Linked DNA regions of Homo sapiens: all the other regions are linked to region 2. The links are contacts of gene promoters, found by promoter capture Hi-C in blood cells and fetal thymus (Javierre and others, 2016). All regions are on one chromosome and are shown on one strand. Each heading gives the region's core, a stretch centred on a gene start or on the middle of the fragment in contact. The rest is flanking DNA. Distances are from core to core; before and after follow the strand shown.

Evidence for each region. Contacts are between HindIII fragments. The CHiCAGO score rates a contact against its expected background, and 5 or more counts as called.
Region 1: a fragment that was not itself captured here is called in contact with the fragment with the promoter of DAPL1 in region 2 in 2 of 17 cell types (endothelial precursors and megakaryocytes); the score reaches 6.6 in endothelial precursors.
Region 3: a fragment that was not itself captured here is called in contact with the fragment with the promoter of DAPL1 in region 2 in 1 of 17 cell types (non-activated CD4 T cells); the score reaches 6.3 in non-activated CD4 T cells.
Region 4: a contact is called between a fragment that was not itself captured here and the fragment with the promoter of DAPL1 in region 2, in 1 of 17 cell types (activated CD4 T cells). The highest score is 5.9, in activated CD4 T cells.

Annotation. Positions count from the first base shown.
Region 1 is chr2:158,031,358-158,034,373 of GRCh38, forward strand. It overlaps a transcript of UPP2 not described here. Among named protein-coding and RNA genes, the nearest start is that of UPP2, 69 kb to the right of the region's middle. The HindIII fragment of the contact is 6,606 bases long and covers 1-3,016 here.
Region 2 is chr2:158,793,855-158,796,596 of GRCh38, forward strand. DAPL1 (death associated protein like 1) reads left to right here and starts at 1,463. Exons shown (of 4, transcript NM_001017920.3): 1 at 1,463-1,576. The coding sequence starts at 1,519. The HindIII fragment of the contact is 930 bases long and covers 734-1,663 here.
Region 3 is chr2:158,052,635-158,055,772 of GRCh38, forward strand. It overlaps a transcript of UPP2 not described here. Among named protein-coding and RNA genes, the nearest start is that of UPP2, 48 kb to the right of the region's middle. The HindIII fragment of the contact is 3,422 bases long and covers 1-3,138 here.
Region 4 is chr2:158,092,763-158,095,550 of GRCh38, forward strand. It overlaps a transcript of UPP2 not described here. Among named protein-coding and RNA genes, the nearest start is that of UPP2, 7.7 kb to the right of the region's middle. The HindIII fragment of the contact is 3,550 bases long and covers 1-2,788 here.

The sequences.
Region 1 (3,016 bases), core at 171-2,670, 760 kb before region 2:
AAGGCATTGCTTGGTATGTTGAGGGACTTGGAGAAAAGGAAATTGTTTCTTCCTGGTGGTTTTCTTCATACATTTGATGATTTCATTCTCTTAATTTGGCTCTTTGAAGGGACTTCCGAGATTTTGAGGCCCTGGAGGAGGCTTAGGGATGGGTGAGGAGTGCAGAGATCTGGGAAACCTGAGCTGTTGGAACATCTCCAGGACCGCTGAGGTTCCGAGCCAGCTCTATTCTAACAAGGATCTGCAGAGGCAGCCAGTGTCGGTTTGGAAGGCCATAGTTATCTTTCCAGTTGGTAACACATAAAGCTGTTTAATCAGATACATGAACTTCTTTGTATAACTCACTCAAACCACAACTCTACCATCAGAAGGCTATGAAATAACATTGAGAAAGTAGATTCAATGTCTGCCACAATCCAGGTGACTGCATTTCCTACATTTTTGGTTTTCTTCAAAACTGGAATCCCTTGGATGGGTAAAATACTAGCGTTCTTTCTTTAGCAATTTCCTCGTGTTTTAAAAGGTGGTTAGAATTTGATCGTGATCATGATCATCACCATTATCACCAAGATACCTCCCTCGAGTATGTTCATCATTCAGAGCACACATCTTCATACAGCTGAATATTGTGTTCCCCTCTGGGTGGCAACTTTCATGAGAGACTCTGGAAACCAGAAATTTCCCAGGAGAGAGCTGCCGGAATGGTACAGGGTCTGTAAACTATGATAGATGAAGATCAAAAGAATTGGGGAATCTCTGCTCTGGAGAAGAGAATCCTGACAAAAATTGAGAGCTAGCAGCTGCTTGTAATGCAGCATTGGGAGCAGATATTGCTGATTTTGGCTTAGTAGAAATAAGAACTTAATAAAACTTATAGCTATTCAATATTGGAGTGGGTCAGGATGAAGTCATGCACATCCTGTCACCAGAAATGTTCATGGCGAGACTGGGGAAACATCTTTCAGGGATGCCATGTAGGGGACCCCCTCCATGGGCTAAGTTGTGGTGAAAAGTTCTGGGTTTGAACTGGGGAGTCAAACAGGTATATGACAAAGAGCTTACCTCTGAGGGGCCTGTGGTCTTCCAGAACAAAGGCTGCCTACATGAAAATATAAGCAACAACCTAAGGAAGTGTATGACATAGGACAGGGGAAATATTAAGAGCTGTGGGTGGTGAGGGCAGTGGCAGAGGAGGGCTTCATTAGGAGGTGGGACATGGGGGAGGTGCTGAAACATGGCTGGGACTGAGATCACTGGAGAGGAAGACTCAGGGCTGCATTTGGGGCTACGGGGAGCATTGTGAACAAAAGACTGTGCTGGAACACAGTATGTCTGGGACAGAGGAGGATTTGTGAGGATACAGATCATAAAATTAGAGAGCACTACAAAGGCTGGATTCTGGAAATCCATGAGTTCCAGGTTATTGAAGTAAATCCTCTAATGGTTTTTGAGTTGCTAAATAGCAATGCTTTTCATATCTGACAGGCAGCACAGGTTTCTTTGTGCAGGGACACAGAGAGGCCAAATGTTAAGGTAGGAAGCAAGTAATATCATGGCATTTTCCTGACCTCTTTCATCTCTGCAGGCTCTGGCCCTAACAGGCTTTTAGGGGGAAATTGTACATTCCTTCTGGTATTTACCAGTATTGGCCTACCCATCCTTAAACCCTCAAATCCCGCTGTATAATTACCCCTAGGAGGCCAGGGGTCATTTAGAACACCAAATGTAGGCAACACCCAGCTATTAGAACTCAAACTTCAGAGCTCTACCTAAATTCTGGCCTGAAGCATACTGAAGATGGGAGGGGGGCCCCAAAGGTGGAGGACCTTTGAGCATGGTGTTTCTTTCTTGAAATAAAGGTGTTTAGTTTCTGAGGTTGGCCTGGGCAGGCTGTGTTCCTGTATAGGGAAGGGTATAGCTCCACTCCCAGGGAGGTCTCTCTGCCACACTAGAGCCCTGGCGGCAAAAAGGCTTACAGATGCTCTCACACTCACCTACTCTCCTGCTTTCTGCATTTAGCTGGGCTCTTAGGGAGGAAAACTGAGATGAGACTCAGGGGTGCTCTTATGACTGCAGATGGGATGGGTGGTTCCAGGAGGGAATGCTGAAGAATAGCTTCTCCAGAAGGGATCTTCCAGGGAGCTTGAGGGGAGCCAGCCAGCCAGCCAGCCAGTGAGTACTCCTCCTCTTTCCTGGGAAGAAGGAGAAGAGGCTGGGGAATGGGCGGTCCAGCAGTTGGTCTCCATGTAGGGCAATTCCTTGGCAAGATAGCAGCAATAACTAACTAGTTCTATGCAAGATCTACCTGCAGGCAGCTGTCCAACACGTTATAATTAAAGGGGTTCCACAAGCCCACTTTTCCAAGTAGTTTCTGTTATTAGCCTATCCTCAGGTTTAAAATGCTACCATTAGGAGAGATTCACTGGACTTTAGCACAAATCTCACCCCAAGGTTCTCTTAAAACATGCAGTTTCACAAGGATGCAATGAAATTAGTTTATTTGCTTATTCCAACCTGTTGAGAAGAGTGCATTGCCCTGAAAACATTAGGAGTTGGAGAAGGCAGCCAAAGACAACCAGATGTTTTGAGAGTGGACAGTACCAAGGGTCACCTTTACTTCCTTCAGGATTTGCTCTGGGGCAACACAGACCCGGTCAAGCAGCATCTCCTGGCTCTGGCAACCCAGAGAACAGTGTAAGGCTCCACACTTGGAAGTGGATACTTTTCAAGCTAGCTGTATGTTCAGTCTCTCCAGGAGGAAAAGCCATAAGAATCTAGGAGTTTGACCATGATCATGAATTCCAACCTTCCACCTCTGAACTGCTCTTCATGGTGTTCCTTCCTGCATGCATTTTTACCATCAGGGTGCTTGTTCTTGAAGCTGCCTGGGGACTCTCAAGTCTGCTCTCTGTGGGGAGGAGGTACGTTTTCACTGAGCAGACACAGCACTCCGCAGGGCAGGGAAAGCTCTCTGTTCCTCTTCCAGTGCAGAAGCCAAGGTCCTGGCTCCTTCGAC
Region 2 (2,742 bases), core at 213-2,712:
TGATATAGATACACCACAATCTGTTTACCCATTCTACAGTTGAACTTCGGAGTTGTTTCTAACTTTTGGCAATCCTGATAGAGCTGTTATAAACATTTGCACATAGGGTTTTGTGTGTACATATGTTTTCATCACTCTTGGGAGAATTCCTAGCAATTGGATTGTTAGTCATATATAGTAAGTGTATGTTGAATTTTATAAGAAACTGTCAAACTGACTTCCAGAACACCTTTGCTTTTTTGCGTTTCCCCCAGCAATGTATGAGAGTTTCAGTTGCTCTGCGTCTTCACCAGCATTTTGTATTTTCCTTTTTTTTCTTGTCTTGAGCCATCCTAATACATATGTAGTGGTATTTTATTGTGGCTTTAATTTGCATTTCCCTAATGACTAATGATGTCGAGCATCTTTTTGTGTGATTATGTGTTGTCAATATCCTTACTTTGTAATGTTTTATTTGAATCTTTTGCCCATTTTTAATTGGGTTGTCTGCTTTCTTATTATTGAGTTGTAAGAATTCTTTATACATTCTAAATGTCGGTACTTCATCAGAAATGCATTTTACAGATATTTTCTCCCAGTTTGTAGCTTGTTTTTATTTTCTTAACAGGGTTTTTCGAAGAGCAGACAACTGCTCTTCAAGTTGTTTTTTAACTGTACTGAAGAACAAAGAAATTTTTATAAATATCTGCCACATGCTAAACTTTTATTGGCGCTGGAATTACAATAATGGCTAAGCTTAAAGTTGTATTTTTCCTTTTTAGCAAAATTGGCATTGATTGGTTTCTTGTCTACTTTTTCACTATCTTATCGTTAATATTTCTACATCATTAAATATTATTTGAAAACATGATTGTAAGGTATACTCTCACAGTGATTTCTTGATTCATCTTAACTATCCCTCTGTATTTGGAGATGTTTATCTTGATTCCCATCAATATTTTAAAAAGAAAAGAAGCATATGATTCCCATCCTTGCGCAGAAATCTCTGTATACATTTCCAATTATTTTCTTAGTATAAATGCTTATAATTGCAAAAACTGGGACAGAGGCACAGGACTTTGCTCTATACCTGTCTCTTTAGAAAGACTACAGATGTCCTGAAGCAAAGAGCTTGTCTTGGCCCCCTTGTCATGCCAGAATATGACAAAAGCCTGTTACATTGCAGGTGCACTATACACACTTGAGGGATCAACGGTTGGAGAGAAAAAGAATTCCACTGAACTCCATCCTCTCCCTTTCCTCCTGTGGAAAAAAAAGAAAGAAAAGAATATCCTGTCTCCTGCAGACATCTACCTTGCCTTCCCAGATGAAGGGAAGAAGAAAGTCTTCTTCTAAGAGAAAACTTGCCAAGGAGATGCAGGTTTCCCAGAGAGCTGGATGACAAGCCCTGTTGCTGCTCAGCAATGCCCTTAAGGGGCCCTGCCCCCTGCCTTTATAAAGCCGGTGCGGTGGTGGGGCAGCCACAGCTGGCATTCAGCCTCCAGAGCACCAGCACTGGCACTGGCACTGGCACACGCTATGGCAAATGAAGTGCAAGACCTGCTCTCCCCTCGGAAAGGGGGACATCCTCCTGCAGGTAGGCTGCCACCTGCCCTCAGTCCTGCAGGCTGTTGCTGCTCCCCTCTTCCACCAATGCCTTCCATGGAGCACCCCGACAGACGGAAGCTTCTCTGTCTACCCAGTATGACTTTAACTCCATGCAGCCTGACTTCCTCTTATGTCTTTGATCCTTCTTAGCTTGTATGTAAATCCACCCGGGGATTTGTCAGACCCCCAGTGAGTTAAAACCTAATTACCTACGGCAGTGTATGGATTTGGGGCTTGTGGAAAGGCATAGGTAGAGAGGTTGCACCTTTCCTCCCTCGAGGCAGCATTCCTTTCACGGGGCCCTGGCTGTAGATTAGCAGTGACACATCTACACCAGGAAGATGATTTGCTACCATGGAAACCTTTCTCTTTAGAGGTTCCAGCTGTAAGACTCAGTCTCCCCAAGATGCCTGTGCATCATGTGACTTCCTACCCAGGCAAAGCAGCTTCTGCACAGAGGACAACAATCACATTTCTTTCTCCCTCCTCAGGCTTTGGGGATGTATTTACCTGTCAACAAGCTGAGAAGTACTTTTAAATAAAGACACAGGACTTGAGGAGGCTGACTGGAAAAAGTAGCTGTCAAGGTGTTTGCAAAGCATCCATAGTTGTCTTTTTTTTTAATTTATGCTATCTATATTGACTCTCTGGAATATGGAAATTAGTTTTATTGTACTTAACCATATGTTCATATAGATTGGCTGAGGTGTACAGGCCTATTTTTAGTCAGTTTTATATTCTTCCAACTGCCTTCCTTCTTTTTTACTGAAGAAAGAACTCAAAAGCTTGACTGCTTTGTTCTTGCCTTTCTCCATTTACAAAAACATATTTACTGTCTAATTCTCTGGCACCTCTAGGCCAAGGTTATTTCAATAATCTTTGCTGCAGAGGGTGATGGCGGGTATTGTCTTCACAGAGAGTCAAAATGTAACATTGTTTTGGTGGCTTTCCGGCGGGTAGCCTGGCCAAAAAGAGTCCAGATTTTACTACTCATTCTGAGTTTCCAGCTCTAGACATCTTGGTCTGATCTCCTCTGGTAGATTACTGATGTTTTATATTTGTAATCAAATTTAGCAATATTTAACATTACCTATATTTAAAGTTAATTATGCTAGCTAATAGTCAGGAAGTATATATGCAAATCATTGGAAGACA
Region 3 (3,138 bases), core at 233-2,732, 740 kb before region 2:
CTTTGGGCGTCAATGTCTTTATTTGTAGAATAGAATTAATATTATTGCCTTTTGCCCAATAAATGGCAGAAGTGGCTTGTCTTCTTCACTGTCGTCATCATCATCTTCATCATCATTATCTAGAGTAGGAACTGGTAAATGTTTTCTGTAAAGTCCCAGATAGTAAACATTGGAGGTTTGTTGGGCCATAATGTCTCAGTCCCAAGACTCAACTCTGCCATTATAGTCTGAAAACAGCGACAAACAATACATACAAGTATGAACATGGCTGTGTTCCAATAAAACTTTATTTACAAAAACAGGCATTGGGTCAGATTTGGCCTGAGGGCTGTAGTATGCCAATCCCTGATTTAAAGCAGGGCTCCTCAATCACCTCACAAATCTCCTCATTACAGGGAAAGGATGGGAAAAGAAGAAAGGAGGTGCCCCTGGAACCGGTAGATAAGCTGGAGCACCTTTCTAGCAGGAGGTGTGTAGAAGCCCCCACACCAAGTGTAAAGAAGGTGGTAGAAGACTTGGGTGTCAACTGTGTGTGGTGAATAACAATAGCCTTTTGGGAAGTCCTGATTTAGAAGAATAAGTAAGAAAGATGTAGCCTTTCTAACAAAACCTGGAGGGCAAGGGTTGGGTTTTACATACTTTCATAATAATACCTAACATACACTGGGTGCTCTGTTATGTGCTGGCTGCTGTGCTAAGCACTTTATATGCATTTTCTCATTTAGTACACCCCAAATTCTCAAGGAACAGGTATATTAGATAAGGAAACTGAAATTTGGAAAGACTCGTGATCATGGTTATCCAGAGTTCAATTTCAAGCAGTCTGACTCCAATGTCTGAATGCCTAACTCCCATACCATATTGCTTGTATCTTGTACAGGCCTAGCTCAGTACCATGTACAGGGCTGGATTCAGGACCATTCTATAACCATTCGTAGAACAAGCAAATGGATGGATGGATGGAAGGATGGATAGGGCTTTGATTTCTAGGTAAATCATTATCCATACAGTAGCTACTTGACCTTTGGCAGAATTGTTAACATGTTTATAAATAATCTTATGAAGCTATAGATTAGGTTTTCCAGGGAATTTGAAGGATTTTAGCCACAGGATGTCTCACACATTACCATAGTTTACTCGAAGTGTGAGGAATTTATCTTCTACAATTCAAATGTGGAGAATGGGGCATAGACAGATTATAGGCCTTCTTAATTGGAAAAAGTAAATAGTGAAAAAGCTAATGCAGTGTTATTCCAAAGAAGGGGTTTTCTTTACCAGGTTTGATGGGACAATGTAACTATCTGTCACAAGCATTTTCACAATTTTGTGGTGACTTACAGCAAAATATTAGTAGCTGTGTTGAATAAAAGTCTGCATTTTTGAAAAAGTGCAAAAGGAGACCGAGGTGGGTGGATTACCTGAGGTCAGGAGTTCAAGACCAGCCTGCCCAACATGATGAAACCCCGTCTCTACTAAAAATACAAAAATTAGCTGGGCGCAGTGGCACACGTCTGTAGTTTCAGCTACTGAGGCATGAGAATGGTTTGAACCTGGGGGAGGTTGCAATGAGCTTAGATGGTGCCACTGCACTCCAGCCTGGGTGACAGAGTGAGACCCTGTCTCAAGGAAAAGTAAATAAATGAATAAATAAAAAGAAAGAAACAGTGCAAGAGGGAAAAATATAGCTTATAAATAATTGATAAATGCCTGGTTTACTTTTTCATGTTTTTGCTTTGTTGGTTATTTTGAGGTTTTTTTTTTTTTTTAAATCCTTGCAATGTGTAGAGAAAGAAGGAAGTGAGAGAAATTAATTAATGTATTTCTCTATGTTCCCTTGGAGAATCATGGGCTTTGCATATTGAAAGTCATTTTCCTCTGATAATATGAGATTGTGCTGAAATTTCTGTAGTGGGACATGGGAAAGAGTGAGGCTGAGAAAAAGCATGAAAACCATCCCAAAGCCAGTGACTTTTGAGAATCTGGTGTGTACTAAGGGCTTGCTGGGAGACTAGTTTTGCAGCTTTTTCACTGCCTTTTCCAGAAACATCTGCTGCTAGTATTTTAATTGGTTCTTCTCATCCCCATAAATAGTCAATGACTTCTACATGATGTTGAGCTAACAAATCTTTTTCCCATTAAAAATGTTTTAAACTACAATAAATACACAAAACATAAAACTTGCTATTTTAACCATTTTAAGTGTATATACAATTCAGTGGCATTAAATAAATTCACAGTGTTGTGAATTATCACCACCATCCATCTCCACAACTTCTTTTAATCTTGCAAAACTGAAACTCCGTACCCATTAGACTAAACTTCCCATTCCCCTCTCTCCCTAGCCCCTGACAACCACTATTCTACTTCCTGTCTCTACTAGTTTGACTACTCAGATACTGTCTTAGTTCATTTTCTGTTGCTTATAACAGAATACCCCAAACTGGGTAACTTATGAAGAATAGGAATTTATTTCTTACAATTCTGGAGGCCGGAAAGTCCAACATTGAAGGGTCGCATCTGGTGAGAGCCTTATTGCTGGTGGGGGCTCTCCCTGCTGAGTCCCAAGGCGGTGCAGGGTATCACATGGTGAGGGGCTGAGCATGCTAATGTGCTGGTTCGGGTCTCTTTTATAAAGCCACCAGTTTCCCTCTCAGGATAACACATTAATCCATTAGTCCATGAATGGATTATTCCATTCATAAGGGCAGAGCCCTCACCACCCAATCACCTCTTAAAGGCCCTGCCTCTCAATATTGTTACATTGGGGATTAAGTTTCAACCTGAATTTTGCACGGGACATTCAAATCATAGCAGGTACCTCACAGAAGTGAAATAATACAGTATTTTTTTTTGTGACTGGCTTGTTCACTTCGCATAATGTCCTCAAGGATATACATCCTCAGAGCTGTCTTTCTTGACACTCCTAAGTGATAGCCCTCTAAAAGTATTCCCATAACATGATGAACTTCTCTTTTATACAATTTTTGAAAGTTGTGATATTTAAGTTAAAAATGGGTATTTAACAGGCTGTGCAACTATGATGTCAAGGAAGGGTAGGGAATTCAGGCATAACCAACTCCAGCATTTCCAGCAATGTCCCAGGGCCTCTCTGCTGTGTCCTGTGTTGGTTTCTTTCTA
Region 4 (2,788 bases), core at 75-2,574, 700 kb before region 2:
GAGTTAAATTGTTCCAAGTTGCTTGTGTTATGCAGAAGAGTATAGGTATTAATTAGCTTTGAATTGTATTAAGTATGCTTGTTGAAATGTAAGGGTAACTATTGAAAGAATAGAAATAAAATATATAACTTCCAAAATAACAGAGGGAAATGGGGTCTGCAAAGAATCATGTAATCATTTTTTTTTCTCACTTTGCCACCCAGGCTGGAGTGCAGTGGCATGATCTCGGCTCACTGCAACCTCCGCCTCCCGGGTTCAAGTGATTCTCGTGCCTCAGCCTCCCCAGAAGTAGGGACTACAGGTGCACGCCATCATGACTGGCTAATTCTTGTATTTTTAGTAGAAATGGGGTTTCACCACATTGGCTAGGCTGGTCTCAAACTCCTGACGTCAAGTAATCTGTCCACCTCAGCCTCCCAAAGTGCTGGGATTACAGGCGTGAGCCATTGCGCCCAGCACAGAGAACTTAATCATTCTATAGAATGTAGGAAGGCGGTAAAAAGAAACATACACACACACACACACACACACACACACACACACAATTAGAAAAAAAATAAGAAGAAAGGAGTAAAAATATATCAGGAATCACAGTATTTGTAAATGTATTAAACATAGATAAAAGACAACTTTTTGAAAATCCATTGATGTATTGTTTACCTGATACACTCCTAAAACATAATGACATGGAAAGTTTGGAAGTAAAGGACAATATATATAACCAACAAAGGATCAGTATTCATCATATATAAAAATCTCCTACAAATTAGTAAGACAAAAATAAAATACCCAAAAGAAAATACGGGCAAAGAATGGAGAAGAAAGCTGAAAGACTGCCAAACATATATAAAGGCGTTTAATCTCACTAGTAATCAGGGAAATGAAATAAAGCAAAGAGATACCATTTTACAGTCATCACATTAACAAAAGAATTATAAGGCTAACAACATCAGATTTATTGGCAACAATATGGGGAAATGGGGTTTATTATACACTGTTGACAAAAGTGTAACTTGGTAAAACTATTAGGTAGGGCAATGTAATACTATCTAGTAAAACTGAATACATGCAAACATATTATTACCACACATTAGAGAAACTCTTATGTGCATACACAAGAAGATACCCATAAGGATGTTTACAGGAAAAAATTGGAAGCAACATAAAAAAGCCAGTTTTAAAAATATATATATAGTATATGTTACATTTATATATATATGCCATATATTATATATACATATGATTCTTATATATACATATCTACCATATATATACATATACCATATACATACACACACGCACACACCTTAAACCTGCTCATGTAGTTATTAAGTACATACTTATAAGTACGAGTTTTAACATATACCCCAAAAGCATACCTACCAACTCTTCACCTTTAGGACAGTGATTACCTTCAGGAAGAAAGTGAAGGTAATCTAAAGTAAGGAAGGTGACAGGGCTTTAATGAAATCTTTCCTTTAAAAAAAAATGTGTTAAATATGGCAAAATGTAACAATTGTTAAATTTGGGTAGTAACTACACAGGCATCTAATATATCTGTACCTTTATGTTTAAATGTTTTAAAATTAAAAATTTTAACTATAGTAACTAACATGAAGTAGTCACAAAGACCTAACAATCACCACAGCAACAGTATTTTCTGTTTAGTTACTTTAAATAAAAAACCAAGTAAAGTGTTCAAAAGAATAACATTTTTGAAAAGTCATGACATGCCTAAGGTGAAGCATTTACAGAAATGTCAATGTGACCATGATTATACAACCAAGGTTTTCTACTTCCTTAGAAAAAAAATTAATGGTTAACTCAATATATTGCACTTAGTAATGTTAAGAGAGTTCCATAAAACATACTGTTCTCTTTCACTCAGCTAAACCTAAATTAGAATCAGTCAGCTTTGAAATTTCATGACTTTGGGGGCCTAGAATTCACCACCTCCACAATGTATTAGCATTATTTTCCCATCTGAGCCCTCTTGGGCAGCAGCAGTAATAATCTGTGGTGTGTGTTAGAGGTTAGGACTGAACCTTCCTTGAGTTCCCAGGAAAATCACCCCCTCTCCCTTCAGTGTGGGGTTTGTCAAACTCACAGAGCTTCCTCCAGCTGTGGAGGCTGATTTCCCAATGTACTTCATGATCTGGTTAAGCGCTTTCATCAGGTGCTGAAAGACTAACACGGGCTTTAATCTCCAAGGCTTGAAGTCACCAGAATGGCCAGTCACAGGCAGTGAGGAAGCCAGGCTAGGAGACCAGCAGAAACAGAGCCTCTCAGCCCTCATACCCTTTAACTAATATTTCAGGGACAGCTCAGGGGCAGACAGAAATTGCTCCAGACAGGGTGGTGAGTTGGGCCCTGCTATTTGGGTAAAATCATAGGGAAGTGATGAGCCTGAGATGAGTTAATCGTAAAGTGTGTGTGAGAGACATTTTAAGGGTCAATTTAAAATTTGGCAATGAGATGACTTTAAAATCAGCTTTAGGACTGGGCCATCATTTTGATGGGGCCATCTTGTTCATCAGCATTCAAAGAACACACAGCTGCTATGGTTTAACTGTGCCCTCTTTTCCTATAAATGAGTTAAATCAACAACCTGATGACTAGCAGGGTAAAATGTGGCAGAGAGATGTTCCTTACATCCCAGTCCTACTTCACCTTCAACACCCAGATCAAATTCCCTTCTCTTGTTGAGGCCATTCTCCTTGGACTTTGTCTTCTTTAATGGACTCCACCATGTACCAGAAGCAGAGTAGAAAGAGTTTTCATGGTTTTG